Linked DNA regions of Homo sapiens: region 2 is linked to region 1. Evidence: promoter capture Hi-C in 16 types of primary human blood cells and fetal thymus (Javierre and others, 2016). All regions are on one chromosome and are shown on one strand. Each heading gives the region's core, a stretch centred on a gene start or on the middle of the fragment in contact. The rest is flanking DNA. Distances are from core to core; before and after follow the strand shown.

Region 1 (7,711 bases), core at 2,774-5,273:
ATAAAAAACCTCATATCCCACTCAAATATTAATTTGAAACAAATGGTGATATACTGAGACCATGGAATACGAAGTAATAAAAAGGAATTAAAATATTGATCCACACAACAACTTGGATGAACCTCCTGGGGAGTTATGGCTTGCAATCCTTGGCTGGGAAGCTGCTGCCCAACGTATCTATACTGTGGAAAGGGGGCATGATACCTTCACAACAACAACAATAATACTGTTTTTTGGGTTTTTTGTTGTTGTTGTTGTTTTTTGAGATGGAGTCTTGCTCAGTTGCCCAGGCTGGAGTGCAGTGGTGCAATCTCGGCTCACTGCAAGCTCTGCCTCCCGGGTTCACGCCATTCTCCTGCCTCAGCCTCCCGAGTAGCTGGGACTACAGGCGCCCGCCACCACGCCCAGCTAATTTTTTTTTGTATTTTTAGTAGAGACGGGGTTTCACCACGTTAGCCAGGAGGGTCTCGATCTCCTGACCTCGTGATCCACCCGCCTTGGCATCCCAAAGTGCTGGGACTGATTACAGGCGTAAGCCACTGCACCCGGCCAACAGTAATACTGGTTTTAATGTCAAGAAACTTTGAAACGCATTACCTCTCTCCACAACATTCCTGAAAGGTAGGTCTTATTTCCCTGTTTAAAGATGAGGAAACAAGCCGGGCATGGTGGTGGACACCTGCAGTCCCAGCTGCCTGGGAGGCTGAAGTGGGAGGATTGCTTGAGCCTAGGTGTTCCAGGCACCTCGCAACATAACAAGACCCCATTTCTTTAAAAAAAAAAAAATTTAAAGATGAGGAAACTAAGACTGACTGAATAAGCTGAAGTAGCTTCACCCAAGCTTAGACAGGTAGTAGGTGTATCTGTGATCCAGCCCACATCTGTCTGACCCTAAAGTTCCCAGTTCTACCACTCCCAGCTGCCTTCCTCAGAGCAAGGCACAGGAGGGACCTGCTGTTACTTGTGGAAAAAAGAAGACATTACACCTGGAAGGAGAGAGGAGTTAGGTTAGACGAAGATGTGTATATACATTCTTATCTTCTACGATGAAAAACGGGAAGGCATCCGAGGAAGCACAGCCTGCTTTGGTCTATGATTTCCTCTTAAAGTGAGGAGGGTCATTCTTGTTTTACAGAGTCACATCAGTTCTGAAGCATTTTGATAAAGAAAATGCTCCTAGTGTCCAATTTGGGTCTCAGAAGGGTTTATTTTGAGTAAACCACCACCTTGTGGCAATAAACATGAGTTGCAGGAGGAAGAGTTTGGTTTTTAATCTTTTGAACTCTAAAACACCTCAGTAGCCCTTAAATTTAGTTAGCAGGTTTTGCATTAAAATAAAACAAACAAAAAAGTACATCACTGAGGGAAGGGCTGATTAAAAATAGATACATTTGAAAAAATCTGACTTTTGGATAATAAATAAAAACACTGACCCAGCGGGGAGCAGTGGCTCATGCCTGTAATCCCAGCACTTTGGGAGGCTGAGGCAGGCGGATCATAAGGTCAAGAGATCTAGACCATCCTGGCCAACCAACGGGGTAAAACCCCATCTCTACTAAAAATACAAAAATTAGCTGGGCATAGTGCCACATGCCTGTAGTCCCAGCTACTCGGGAGGCTGAGGCAGGAGAATTGCTTGAACGCGGGAGGCGGAGGTTGCAGTGAGCTGAGATCACGCCACTGCACTCCAGCCCAGGTGACAGAGCAAGACTCTGTCTCAAAAAAAAACCAAAAAAACAAAAACAACAACAACAAAAAAAACCATTCACCTGTGTCACAAAACATGTAAAAGATGGAAGTTTTATTAAAAAGCAGGAGTGGCCCAAGGTGATTCATCTGGGAAAAAACTGATGAGGTTCCATGTTGTCCAAACTGTAATTTTTTTTTTCTTTGAGATGGAGTCTTGTTCTGTCACCCAGGCTGGAGTGCAGTGGCACGATCTTGGCTCACTGCAACCTCCGTCTTCTGGGTTCAAGTGATTCTCCTGCCTCAGCCTCCCAAGTAGCTGGGATTATAGGCATGCACCACCAGGCCCAGTTATTTGATACTTTTTTTTAGTAGAGACAGGGTTTCACCATGTTGGCCAGGCTCCTGCCCTCAAGTGATCCACCTGCCTCGGCCTCCCAGAGTGCTGGGATTACAGGCGTGAGCTACTGCACCCTACCCAAACTGTACACTTTTGAAAGTGAGAGGGGTTGCTATTAATAATTGCATGGGACAACAGGTGAAAAGTGGGGGTGTCCCAGGCAAACTGGGACATGTGGTTTACCTAAATTTGTTTCTGAGGTTTAGCCTGGCAAAGATGTGAGTACATTTTGTAATAGAGACCACATGGTAAGAAATTTAACCCTTTCAGAAAGAATAAATGTCACTATCTTTCCATGTGCTGGCAAGAGGAATTTAGCATCTGATTTGAATTTTATTTTGGAAACTAAATTCTAAGGGAGATTCCACACCATTCAAGAGCTTCAGCAACCACCACCTTGTGGCAATGAACATGATTTGCATCTAGTCAACTCAGTTTGCAATGTGGTGTCTTAAGGACTGCCTGTGGCTCTGCGTAATATTATCATGGAACTGAATATTGCCATGGGACTGAATGCAAGAAAAGAGTAGGTGGATTCGGAGCTGAAGTGGGAGAAGGCAGGATGACAGGTAGGAAGATGTTCGGTCTCCAGTATACCCATCGCCCTGTACTTCACAGAGGGTTGCTGGGTACCTCATGGCCAAACAGGGTATCAGCACTCCCTGGATGGAAATCATTTGGTGTATGCTTCACTTAGGAAGAATTGATATCTTAACAATATTAATTCTTCCTATCCATGAACACGGAATATTTCTTCATTTATTTAAATCTGTGAGATCTCTTTCATCAGCTGTGATTGATTCCTAGTTTAATTCTATTGCAGTCAGAGAACATACTTTGTTCTATCCTTTTAAATTTGTTAAGCTATGTTTTATGGCCTAGATTGTGGTCTATCTCAGTGAATGTCCCATGTGAGCTTGAGAAAGAATCTATATTCCGCTGTTGTTGAACTAAATATTGCATAAATGTCAATTAGATCAATTTGATATTTTTCAGTTCAACTATATCCTTGCTCATTTGCTTCTGCTGGATGTATTAATTACTTTTTAAAAATGGTATGAAAGCATTCTATTATAATACTGAGTTTACCTATTTTTCCTTGCAGTTTTATCTTCTTTTGCCTCACATATTTCGGTGCTCTGTTTTTAAGTACATACATATTAAGTATTGTTATGTCTTCCCAAATAACTGATCCCTTTAACTTTATGTAATGTCCCTGTTTATACCTGATAAATTTCCTTGTTCTGAAGTCTGCTTTTCTTGAAATTAACATACCTACTTCAGCTATTTTTTTAATTAGTGTCAGCCTGGTATAGCTTTCTCTATCCTTTTGCTTTTAATGTATTTTCTTGTGGATAACACACGATTGGGCTTTGTTTGTTTTTGAAATCCATTCTGACAATCTCTTTTTTAATTGGTGTAATCAGATTATTCACATTTAAAGTGGTTATTGATACAGTTGGATTAATATCTACAATGTCTGTAACTGTTTTGTATGTGTCTCACTTGACTTTCATATCTAATTTTGAATTTGTAATTTCATATTCTTTGCCTTAAAGAGAACGCTTGCAGATCCCTCAAAACCTGGAGACACCCCCCACCTTGCACACATTATACCGGTATGTGATGGTAGAAAAGCTGCACATCAGTCTTGGCAGGCAGGGCAGGAGGGATGCAGGGATTCACAGATGCGACTGTGCAACGCACAGATGCACTGGGTCTTTGCTTGGTGGGTTCGAAGCCTCCAGACGCTGACAAACACTGCAGCCAATGAGTGGGTTCCTATGGTCCGATATGGAGGGCAAGGGGCGGGACTCCCTCCTGCCTCTCCCTGGCTGGGTTCAGAGCCTCCGCGGAGAGACTGCGTTGGGCCCAGAGTGGGCGTGGCTTACGTGTCCGCCGGCTTTCCTGGCAGGCCTGGCGGGGGGGCCAGGTTGCCATGACGACCGCGGCTAGGTCGCGGCAGACTCGGTTGGTGACTCCGGGCGCGTCGAAGATCTTGTACCTGTCGTTCGCAGTGGCTCACTTTCCCAGTAATCCATAAGAACAGCAGGGATAACAGGGTCCCATGTCGTTTTTTTGTCAGAATTCCTCGACTGGCGACCCTGTGCCCGACAGGCTGCACCGCGCCCGGCGCACTGACTCCGGCCTCTGCGCGCGCCCCCTGGCCGGCTCCGGGGTGGGGAGGGGGCTTCGCAGATCCCCAGAAAACCGCCCGGCGAGCCACGAGCCCGTGGACTGCAGGCTCCGCTTCCTCGCGGGGTGTTCACTTTGTATCAGTGTGCTGATTTGCCGCCAGTTAGAAGCACCTTAAAAAGGGGCCGGGGGCCGTAGGAGGGGGGCTTGTCTGAAGGAGGCTCTGGGCTTGCTGATCCACGCAGCGGTTTGTCGCGAGGCTGCGGGGGAACGGCCCACGGCCGCGGTAACAGGGCTTCGTCTTCTTTGCAGAGCCATGGGCAGCAGGAAGAAGGAAATTGCCCTGCAGGTAAGCCTCAAGGGGCGCTAGCTTCCAGCTCTGGGTTGGGCTCGGGGAAGAGGAGGGTGATTAGAGCGGGGTTGCAGTATAAAAGTGACATTCTGTTTGCCAGCAGTACGTGACAGTGTTCTCAAACTTGAGTGATGTACCCTTCCGTCTTAAAGGGACAAAACTTATCTTGGAACCCCAGTGATGACAAATTTTACGCAAACAAAATTAATGCAAACAAAACTGAGTAGAAGCTGTTTACATTTATAGTGCTTATACAACCATAAAACCTAAACATGCATTAAATAAAACTATAAACTAAGAAAATACGAATCAACATAACTCGATGTGACCGTTATTTTGTTCTTGTTGAAATACAACTGCAGCTTGCACAGAGAATACAGTATAGGTTCTTTTGACTTTGGGCATGAGTCTGTAACTGTGTGCTCTGTGGAGACCCAGTTTTCCCACCACTGTTCTCATCAAATTTCACTTATTAACAAATATGTTTTGAGATATATTATGTGCTGGACATATGTTATATAGAGTGTCTTACTTCATTTGCATGTGGGACAAGTGAATTCAGAAGCCAGCAGCTGCTCTTCTTCTTGGTCCTGGACAATAGATAGTGGTTGATTCTGAAGTGATGGTAAAAACATGCAGGCATAGACCCTGGAATTAGGAGAGAGTGCTTGGTCATAAGGAGATCAGCTGGATGATCTGCAACATGGGAACATTTTAAAACGAACTTAAAATGCCTCATCATCAGCTGGCCCCAGTAAGATGCATACCAAGGCTACAGCGCCTCCTAGATAATAGAGCATTAGTGGTTTTGAGACATCTGGTTTCTCTCTTATTGTCCTCAGCAGGACCAGCAGTTTGCATGTGGATTTCAAAAGCCTAGTGGTTTAAAAAAGAGGAAAGGGGAAAGCAGCATCATTCTAAGGGTACCCCATGCTGGGGGTGGGAGGGGTGTGGGGTGGGGTGGGGTGGGATTTTTAGACTGGAAGTCAGAAGACCTGATGTAGTTCTTGTGTCCTCTATAGCCAACTGTGTCTTTGACTACATCACATAACCTCTCCAGGCTATAGCTTGCCCATCTATGGAATGAGGATGTTGTGTGAATTATCCCTAAGGGCCTTCTTCCAGCCTTGATATTCTAGGATTCTAGAGTCAGAAGCCACTTCATACGTGAATGTTCTGGTTGAAGTAAATTCTGATCAACTGGTCCTACCATTCATTGCTGTGTGACTCATTTCCTCAACTCTCTGGCCTCCGTATCCTTTACGTAGACAGGAGGGATGATACCTGTCCTGTAACGCCTGCAGAGCTGTGATGAGACTCCTTTAGACACTTCCTGGCTGGTCTGATGTTGTCTGTGGTGTCTCTAATGTTATTGCCCCATATTATGGTCATTTCATGTGTTGATGCCCTAGAGCTCCTATGGGGGTAATAACTTTTGTTAGCAATGTTGTTATTTTTTCATGTGTATTACTCAGAGCTCTGAGTACAATGCAGTACTCAAACTAAGTGCTCCCTCCTGCTGAAAGGAGGAGAGCGAGCAGCCTCCCCTCCCGTCTTCTACTGAGGCATCTGTGTAAAGGTCACCTCTCTATAAGGTAAACCCCTTGAAAGCAATGCCTAAAGTTGGCCAACCCAGGAACCTTGTCCTCTCTCTCAGCAAGGTTATTCAGGGTTCCCTTTATAACTGAGACAGGCAGAAATCACAGGACATCAAGGGACAGTCTGGGTAAAAGGTGCCACACATTCCCTATTCATTCCCTACCAAATGCAGGCTTAGTGAAGTCCGGATAGTTCCCACACTGTTCCACTCTTGCCTGGCTCCCAGGGCTGAGATTCTTCAACTGCCCAGAGTCCTGGCCCCAGAGCTGGTGGGACTCACTCCATGACAGGGGTGGGCCACAGAGAGCTGCTGGTGACTTAAGTCTGAGCCTCTGGGTAGGGGTGTGGGGCCCTTCCGAACGCTTCTATCACCTTCCTCAGGACTGTAGTTGTGGGCCCAGGGTTATGTCAGTCCAACTCTCTTATTTCATTTAAGACATCAAGAAGACTTTTCTGGGTTTCTTTTTCTTCTACTTTTCATTGAAACAAAAAAAGTAAGGACTATGCTTCCTTAAAAGAGAGACTTTTTTTTTTTTTTTTTTGAGACAGTTTCATTCTGTCCTGTCGCCCAGGCTGGAATGCAGCGGCATGATCTCATCTCAGTGCAACCTCCACCTCTCACGTTCAAGCAGTTCTCATGTCTCAGCCTCCCGAGTAGCTGGTAAAACAGGTATGCGCCACCACGCCCGGCTAACTTTTTTTTTTTTTTTTTTTTTTTTTTAGTAGAGGCAGGGTTTCACCATGTTGGCCAGGCAGGTCTGAAACTTCTGGCCTCAAGTGATCTGCCCGCCCTGGCCTCCAAAAGTGTTGGGATTACAGGCATGAGCAACCACGTTCGGCCAAAAAAGGAACTTTTAATAGAGGATTAGCAGTTGTTACATGTTTCTTGCCCTTATTGCCAATAATGCATCCTATCTTTTTTAGAGGGACACAGACCTTAGCATACCTGTATTAAGAACAATAGTAGGCCAGGCGTGCTGGCTCATGCCTGTAATCCCAGCACTTTGGAAGGCCGAGGCAGGCAGATTACTTGAGGTCAGGAGTTCACGACCAGCCTGGCCAACATGGTGAAACCCTGTCTCTACTAAAAATACAAAAAATTACCCGGGTGTGGTAGCGGGCACTTGTAATCCCAGCTACTTGGGAGGCTGAGGCAGGAGAATCTCTTGAACCCAGGAGGCAGAGGTTGCAGTGAGCCATGATCATGCCACTGCACTCCAGACTGGGTGACAGAGTGAGACTGTGTCTCAAAAAAGACAAACAAAAAACCCAGTAGTAATTTTTGTGGTCTTTTAATGTATATAGTTTCAAAGTAGCTCACCACAAAAATATGTTAATTACAAAGGAAAAGAGAATAATTTTACAGACAACAGACCTGACAGACCATGTTAATCCAGTGATCAAAGTGAACATCAGTAACAGGCAGATGGAAATTGTGTCTCATCTGCTAGGGAGTAGTGAGAGGAATGATCTTCAGCTTCTCCAACACTCCAACCAGTCCAGCCAATTTCAACCAGTCCAAACATGCACAGTCTGAA
Region 2 (7,515 bases), core at 13-2,512, 1.0 Mb before region 1:
TAGGCTAAGAGATTGCAGCTAGGAAAGAGGCTTGGTTCACTGGACATGATACTGAAGAGGCCGTGTGTTATCATGGAAGAGCCTTTGACATAAGCAGAGAATCAAATCTTAGCTCAGCCTCATGCAGTTTGCTTATTGCTTTGCCTAACTTCTACTTCCATTTCCATTAGCAAAAAAGAAAGAAAAAGCCATTTGTTCCTAGTCACCTCTTCTTCTCCTATAAATGTTGGTATCCCTACAGATTCTGAACGATGTCCTTTTCTCCCTTCTCAGATTCTTACTCGATGATTTCTCCTATCCTGCCACGACTTCAATTACCTTTATATGCCAGAAACTCTAAAATCTGAATCTCCTGCCAAGATCACCTTCCATCCAATTACTCAACCTCTCTCATGTACTTGAATACTGCCAAGTCAGAACCCATCAACTTTCCCTTGTCTCAAACCTGCATTTTCTGTTCCCTATCTCAGCATCATCCAGTAGGCCATACAGGCCAGAAATCTTACAGCCATTCCTAAATTCTCCCTGATCCTCCAGATCTAGCCAATAGCAGTAGTAATAACAACAACAGTAATCAAATAGCTGTAGTAATAATAACAGTAATTATAAGAGCTACCATTTATTAGCTATTTACTACATGCCAATACTGACTGAGCTAAGTACTTTACACATTCAGCCCATTTAATACTCACAACAACCCATGAGGTAAACACGAAGATTATCCCAATTTTACAAAAAAAAAAAAAAAACAAAAAAAAAAACACCACTGGCAGAGAACATACTGATTGTTTGCCTTCATAAATCTCATTTTAATCCTCCATTTCCCACTGCCACTACTCTAGTCAAGGCTATCCTCATCTCTTGCATCAGCCTCCCTTTCTCCATTCTGGCCCCACTACAGATCATTCTCCACAGAGCAACCAGAGTAATCTCTTTAAAATGTAATCAAGATTACTCCCAAGCTTAAAATTCACGAATGGCTTCCAACCTCATTTAGAAAAAAAGTTAAGGTGGTCTGCTTACCTACACTATGTCTCTCACTAAGTGATGTGCTCTATGAAGACCAGACCTTGTCTTATACTCATCTCTGGCACCCAGGGTTCCTCAGGGTATCCAGCACACAGCAAGTGCTCAGCACTACTCTCTCCTCAGTCTCACCCATTCACTCACCTTTAGTTACCATTTTTACTCCGATGTTCCTCACTTTATATTTAACTCCATACTAAACAGTTGACTCTTAAAGTCACCTCAAATTTAATGTGTCCCAAATAGGTTTAATTCCGCCTCCTTTCCCATCTCCTGATCTCATCTACTCCTGCACTACCCCCGCCCCCAAAATAACGGTTCCAACAATTAATTAATCTTCTTCATCTTGGTGTAAATGGGACAACCCTCTATTCCAATCAAAAACTTAAGAAACAATCTTAATTTGTCCCTTTAAACTCATATCCAAAGCCTTAATCAAGCCTTATCAATCCTACCTCCAAAATGGGTTCCCAAATATCTGTGCTCAGTCTCATTTCTGGACATCTGCTACTGTCCCCTATGCTTGAGAAGCTTCTTGCTTTCTCCTTAGCATGGCTAACCAGATCTCAGCTTTGGTCATATTTGCCAGGAACCCTTCCCTGACCTTCCAACCTAGTTTGAGTGCCTCTCCTGTGTGCGTCCCCTATAACAACCCGGGTCACACTGCACTGCCAATTCCCCATGGACATGAGTTCCCACAGGGAAATGTCTGTGTCAGTCTTAGTTTGCCATATCCCACAGAGCTTAGCACAGTGCTCTGCACGGAGCGGAACTCAGGCACTGTAGTTGAGTGAGTGAACGAATGAACAGATATGCAGGTGATGACAAACTCTACAGGTACAGAAGGAAGACAGCTGAATCTGAGGAAGCGCTAGGATACGTGTCGCGGGGGCTATCGCGTGGTTTTCGCCTGCCAGAAACAGGATCTACGTCTCCCAGAAGAACGCCCCAGCGAAAGTCCGGAAGGTCACTTACCGGCCTCGGAGCTGAACCGGCGGCGTGGCAGCCCCATCTCGAAAGAGCAAGGTAGCGGTTGGAGCAGGCCACCGTGCCAGGGCTGGATTCGAGCCCGGAAACAGACCCGTTCCACGCCCGGAGAACTCCTCAAGAGGCTCCACAGCAATACAGTTGTTCCGAGGGGCGCCATGATTATCAGAAGCCACTTGCGCCGGAAGTGGTTGGGAGGGATTCCGAGTCACACCCAGTTCTTGCAGCACTCTGGGAAATGTAGTCTAGTTAAAGGCGGAAAGGGCCGGAAGTCTTCCGGGCCCTTATAGATTGTTTCTTCTAAACTACTTATTCACAAGTAGACGGTGTTTATGTCCTTCCCTATGCATAAAGTTAAAACTTACACCTTTTTCCCTATATGCTCTTTTTCCTACCCGTTTCCATCGTTCTAAATAACAAATTTCCGGCCAGGCGCCGTGGCTCACGCCTGTAATCCCAGCAGTCTGGGAGGCCAAGGCGGGCGGATCACCTGAGGTCAGGAGTTCGAGATTAGCCTGGCCAACATGGTGAAACCCCCGTCTCTACTAAAAATATAAAAATTAGCCAAGCATGGTGGCGGGCGCCTGTACCAGGAGAATCGCTTGAACCGAGGAGGCAAAGGTTGCATTGAGCCAAGATCGTGCCATTGCACTCCAGCCTGAGCAACAAAGCAAGACTCCATCTCAAATAAACAAACAAACAAACACTCTAGCCTGGGTGACAGAGTGAGACTCTTGTCTCAAATAAATACATAATTTATGTATTCCACTTCCTGCCCAAACCTTCTCCCCCATCCTCAGGTTTAAATCCAACTACTTCTTAAATTTCTCCATCCACACTGCTCACATGCACCCTAAATCTAACTCCTGACTCCAAGCCCTGATTACCACCACCACCACTGCCACTGCCAATTCATACACCTGATTCTCTGTCTCAACACTTATTCCTTTCCTTTATAGCCCATTTTATAATCTGTTATTTTGCTCTTTATCTGCTTATTTCTTTTTCTCACCCCATGAACACAGTGACTCTACATATTTTATTGCAATATCACCTAGCCTAGTACATCTACGTGCACAGCAAACTTTTGTTGAATAAATGAATGAATGATTAAATGATTCTTTACATTTTTTCCAGCTATCCAGGATGTGCAGGTCTTATCCTTCTCTAGACTATAGATTGGTGCCTGTGCTAAGCACTTATCCCAAGGCCTGGGAAAACAGGGTGTTAGTAAACTCTTGTTTGACTTAGCTGGATGAATAGACTCACCTTCCAGCCTCAGCTATTTTCCCCCAACTTAGCATTAATATTAACAGTGCTGTTTATGAACTCATTCCCTATTTGGGAGGGGAAGGGAGAGCACTAGGCTTGGTGCCTATTTAGGCAAGTCTGCTGCCCTGCACTTCCCAATGCTTACACCTACATGATAGCAGGTGTCAGAGACTAGTGGCAGGATGAATGCAGGTGTCTCCCAGCCCATGCCTTTTCTCTGAAAATGAACCCTCTACTTTCTTCCCATAGCTGAGGGAGCAGGCCTCAGTGGCTATGTTTTTCCTGTAAACATCCTCCTGGACACAGCTGATTGGACACTTAGTGCAGGATGAATGAATCCATTGGCTGCTGTATTAGCATTAGTTTCCTGTGGCTGCTATAACAAACTACCACAAATATTATGGTTTAAAATAACAAAAATGTATTCTTTCACAATTCCGCATGAGAAATCTGAAATCAGTATTACTGAGCTGAAATCAAGGGAGCTCTGCTCCCCTTAGAGTCTATCTCTGGAGAAGAATCTGCCCCTTGTCTCTTCCAGTTTCTGATGACTGTAAACATTCCTTTGCCTGTGGCTGCATCATTTCAATCTCTGCCTCCATCTTCACATCAGCTTCTCTTCTTCTATTTGTGCCAAATCTTCCTCTGTTTTCTTCTTATAAGGATGTATGTGATTGCATAATCACTGACCCACCCTGATAATCCAAGATAATCCCCATTTTAAAATCTTTAACTTAATCACATCTGCAAAGACCATGTTTCCATATAAGGTAACATCCACAAGTTCCATGGATTAGAGTGCAGTTATACTTGGGAGGAAGTATGGGGGCATTCTTCAGCCTACCCCAGATGACCAGGCACCAAGCAGATTTTTTCTCAATAATTCAAACTATGAGACATAGAATAGTCGACGGTGGAAGCTTGAAGTGAATAACTAAGTATTTAGGGTTTGGGCTGAAGCAGCCTTTTTCAGCAATGTGCTCACTGATGAGTGAGCAGGGAAAAGCCACTCTGCAGAGAGAGGCAGGAAAATGGAGCAGATCCTCAGAAGCAGAGATGGGAGAATATGTACGGAGAGAGATGGAGAAAGGTGGTGTCTTGGCCAGAGAGCTTCCCACTTTCCTTTCAATGACCTCTTTTACTTGGGGTACAGTGAGTTTTACTGATATGGAGTAATGAAGATTCCTGGTTTAAGCTATAACCTCAGGCAGATGCCCACATCTTTCAGAGCCCCAGTACCTCACCTGCAAAATGGGCATAATGACAATACTTATCTTGCAAACTTTGAGAATAAAGTACTTTCAGGATCTGATGTCTGGTGTTTCATAAAGATGGTGTGAGAAGGTTGTGTGGTGGCAAGTCAATTACTTTCTTTTTTTCTTTTCCGTTTTTTTTTTTCTTTTGAGACAGGGTCTTTCTTACTTTGTCACCATGGCTGGAGTGCAGTAGCATGATCTCAGCTCACTGCAACCTCTGCCTCCTGGGCTCAAGCAATCCTCCCACCTTAGCCTCCCAAGTAGCTAGGACTACAGGTGCACACCACCATGCCCAGCTAATTTTTGTGTTGTCCAGGCTGGTCTTGAACTCCTGGGCTCAAGTGATCTGCCCGCCTCAGCCTACCAAAGTGCTGGAATTGCAGGCATGAGCCATGGCACCCAAGTCAGTTACTTTCTGAGGATGGTATTCAGAAGTACTCTGGTTGCAAGAAACAAATCTTTCCTGAGTAAAACTGAAATGGGAGTAATTGGAAGGATACTGAATATCTCACAGAATTCAAGAAAAAGCTCAACAGCCAAGCCTCAGGAAGGACTTGAAAGATGGCAGCTCCAAGAACCCCAGAGGCAGGAACTCAAGAGATCTCTCCAGGAGGTTGCAGTCCTAATGGCTTGGTTCCAACTCCCTGCCTTCCATCCAATCTAAGTTCCTGGTGAGAGAGGCTGATTGGCCTGGGTGGGGTTCTGTTCACCACTGGGGGTTGGGGAGGGTTGGCCCTCTGACTGACAGTCCCAAGGCTATCTGGCTGCAGCTACTGTTAGGATTCATTAGGTCATATCTTCACCAGCTCTGTGGAGCAAGCATGGTTTTCTATTATTTGTAAAACAAAAGTATAGTGATGCCTCAGTGGGGAGTGCCTTATCCCACTCTCAGTGATTTAACAGGGTCTGGACTTCTGTTTTTTAAAAGATATATTTTATCCTAAGCTTTTAGAAGTCAAGATGGGGTTAGGGGATAAAAGTCAGGGAGAGGAATGGAGAGAGGAAGAACAGAGCCCAAGGAAGAAAGGTGACAGTCTGGACAACGCAAGAACCCCTGCGGTCTCCAGCAACCACACTCATGTGACTTCTGTAAGTCTTCAATTCCCTATCCTTGAGGCCTCCCAAAAGGTCCACATCCACCCCACTTTTGACTTCACCCAGAGTTTTTATTCTTCTGGCCCCTATTCAAAGTCCAAACCTCTTACATGTTCCTACAGAGACACAAATTCCATGGCCGAAATTCCCCTTTGTGTGCTGAGAAGGGACTGGTAGCAAGGAAAAAACCAAAGATCCAGTAACGAGAAGGGACAAGTGATGTTGTGGATCCCTGAGGAAGCTTCAGGGGATGAAGATTCTAAGTGGAGGCATTGGTAGTAGATGCAAAGGAGCCTTTGCACCAGTAGGCCAGGAGTTAAGGATGGTTAGAGTGGATACGTTTTGGGGAGAGAATCAGAGAGCCTTCCTGCCTCTCTGTCCCTTTTTCTGAGCACTGGAAAGCAAAATCATTGGTCGAGAAGAGGTACGGTTGTGTTGGGAGCTATAGGAATGAGCAGTTTGAAGTATCTGCTGGGGCTGGGCACATGGCTGGGATGCAACCTGCTGAGCAGTGGGACAGTCAGTAGCAGTGCAGAAGAGGAGATAATTCCAGAGAAAGAGGGGAAACATCAGAAGACATTCCTGGAAGCCTGTGTGAGGGTTTGCCTGAGCAAAAAAACCTTGAACAATGGTAGGAATGGTTGAAGATGTGATGGCCCAAGCCCCTTCCCTCTCACTCAGAGTGCACTGTCTTCTCATCAGCCCTGTTAGTCTTCATGGCAAATTAGTGAGGCAGACAGGGCAGGCACTGATATTCCCATCTTTTATATGCATAAACTGAGGCTCTGAAGTTATGGGTCTTGCGCATGACCACCCAATTTATTCCATGCAGTGACAAGGCTGAACTCTGAGGTACCTGGCAGCTCTTATGGTGGAAAAGCTCTGTTCTACATGTGTTCTATGGGGTGAAGAAAAACATTGACACTTCCAGAAATTACATAGACTGACTTCTGAGCCAGAATATGGCCCAAAAGAGAGAAGGAGGGAGACTGTCCTCCACCACAAGCCAGTGGGGGCGGATGAGTCAGTTCCTCTAACCCTGGAGTTATCAGTTTATCTCCAATTTTCCACGTGACACTCTGTCCTTTTTCTTCTGATAGCATCCACTGAACTACAATTCTACACCAAACTGAACACTTGAAACAGAAAATGATTGCCAGGGGCCAAGGCTACATCAGTCTGTGATGACAGACAGACCCTCTGTCCTATAGCACAGGGACATAAATGTCAAAGGCACTAAGGCTGGCTGCTACTTGCCACCCCAGCTGCCCCCAAAGGGACTTGGGCCCAGAGCAGTGGCCCCATGACACAGCGATCATGGATATGTTTTGTAATAAATGGCACTTGGCTCCCCTGCTCCCAAGATCTGGCTGCTGTCAGGTTTGGTGTGGAACATTTTGTCTAAAGGACATGCTGGCCTGGGTTGAAAGTAATTCCCATCAGCTCAGAACTGGGTGGTCTGTCACTAGGTTATTTTTCAATTTGATCTGGACTCAGGAAGTCCCTCAGACTGAGAACTGGTATTTTCAAAGGTTAATAAGCCTGTCAGAAATTTCTTTCATGGGAAAATGTGATGTATCTGATTGCCCTGACTTGCATGCAGCTCCCCCAGGTCAGGGGCCTGGGCATAATTTCACTTGAGACTTAGGACTTCAGTGTTTTGAAGATTCTTGGGGCCTGGCTGGGAGAGGCTGGCAAAAGGATGTAGTGGTGGCTGTTTGCAGGAAGCCAGAGCCAGAAAGGGAAAATGTGTGTTCTTAGGACTAAGTGTGTGCCTCTGTGTATGTGCAACCACATATGTGTGTGCTCAGCTGTATGTGTCATGCAAGCGTGTATGTGCATAGGTGTGTGTGTTCAGGGGATACATGTGGATGCATTT

What was found. The method cuts DNA at HindIII sites, captures the fragments that hold promoters and counts their contacts. A CHiCAGO score of 5 or more calls a contact.
Region 2: a contact is called between a fragment that was not itself captured here and the fragment with the promoter of NME9 in region 1, in 1 of 17 cell types (total CD4 T cells). The highest score is 6.0, in total CD4 T cells.

The regions. Positions count from the first base shown.
Region 1 is chr3:138,326,163-138,333,873 of GRCh38, reverse strand. It overlaps NME9 (NME/NM23 family member 9), which reads left to right and starts at 4,023. Exons shown (of 11, transcript NM_001349018.2): 1 at 4,023-4,571. The coding sequence starts at 4,539. It overlaps LOC124909438 (a long non-coding RNA gene), which reads right to left and starts at 3,941. Exons shown (of 2, transcript XR_007096113.1): 1 at 3,704-3,941. The HindIII fragment of the contact is 16,828 bases long and covers 844-7,711 here.
Region 2 is chr3:139,338,685-139,346,199 of GRCh38, reverse strand. MRPS22 (mitochondrial ribosomal protein S22) reads right to left here and starts at 2,180. Exons shown (of 8, transcript NM_020191.4): 1 at 2,002-2,180. The coding sequence starts at 2,173. It overlaps LOC124909439, which reads left to right and starts at 5,327. Exons shown (of 2, transcript XM_047449421.1): 1 at 5,327-5,630. The coding sequence starts at 5,502. RefSeq lists enhancers at 1,573-1,692, 1,703-1,802, 1,779-2,073, 2,033-2,122. The HindIII fragment of the contact is 595 bases long and covers 965-1,559 here.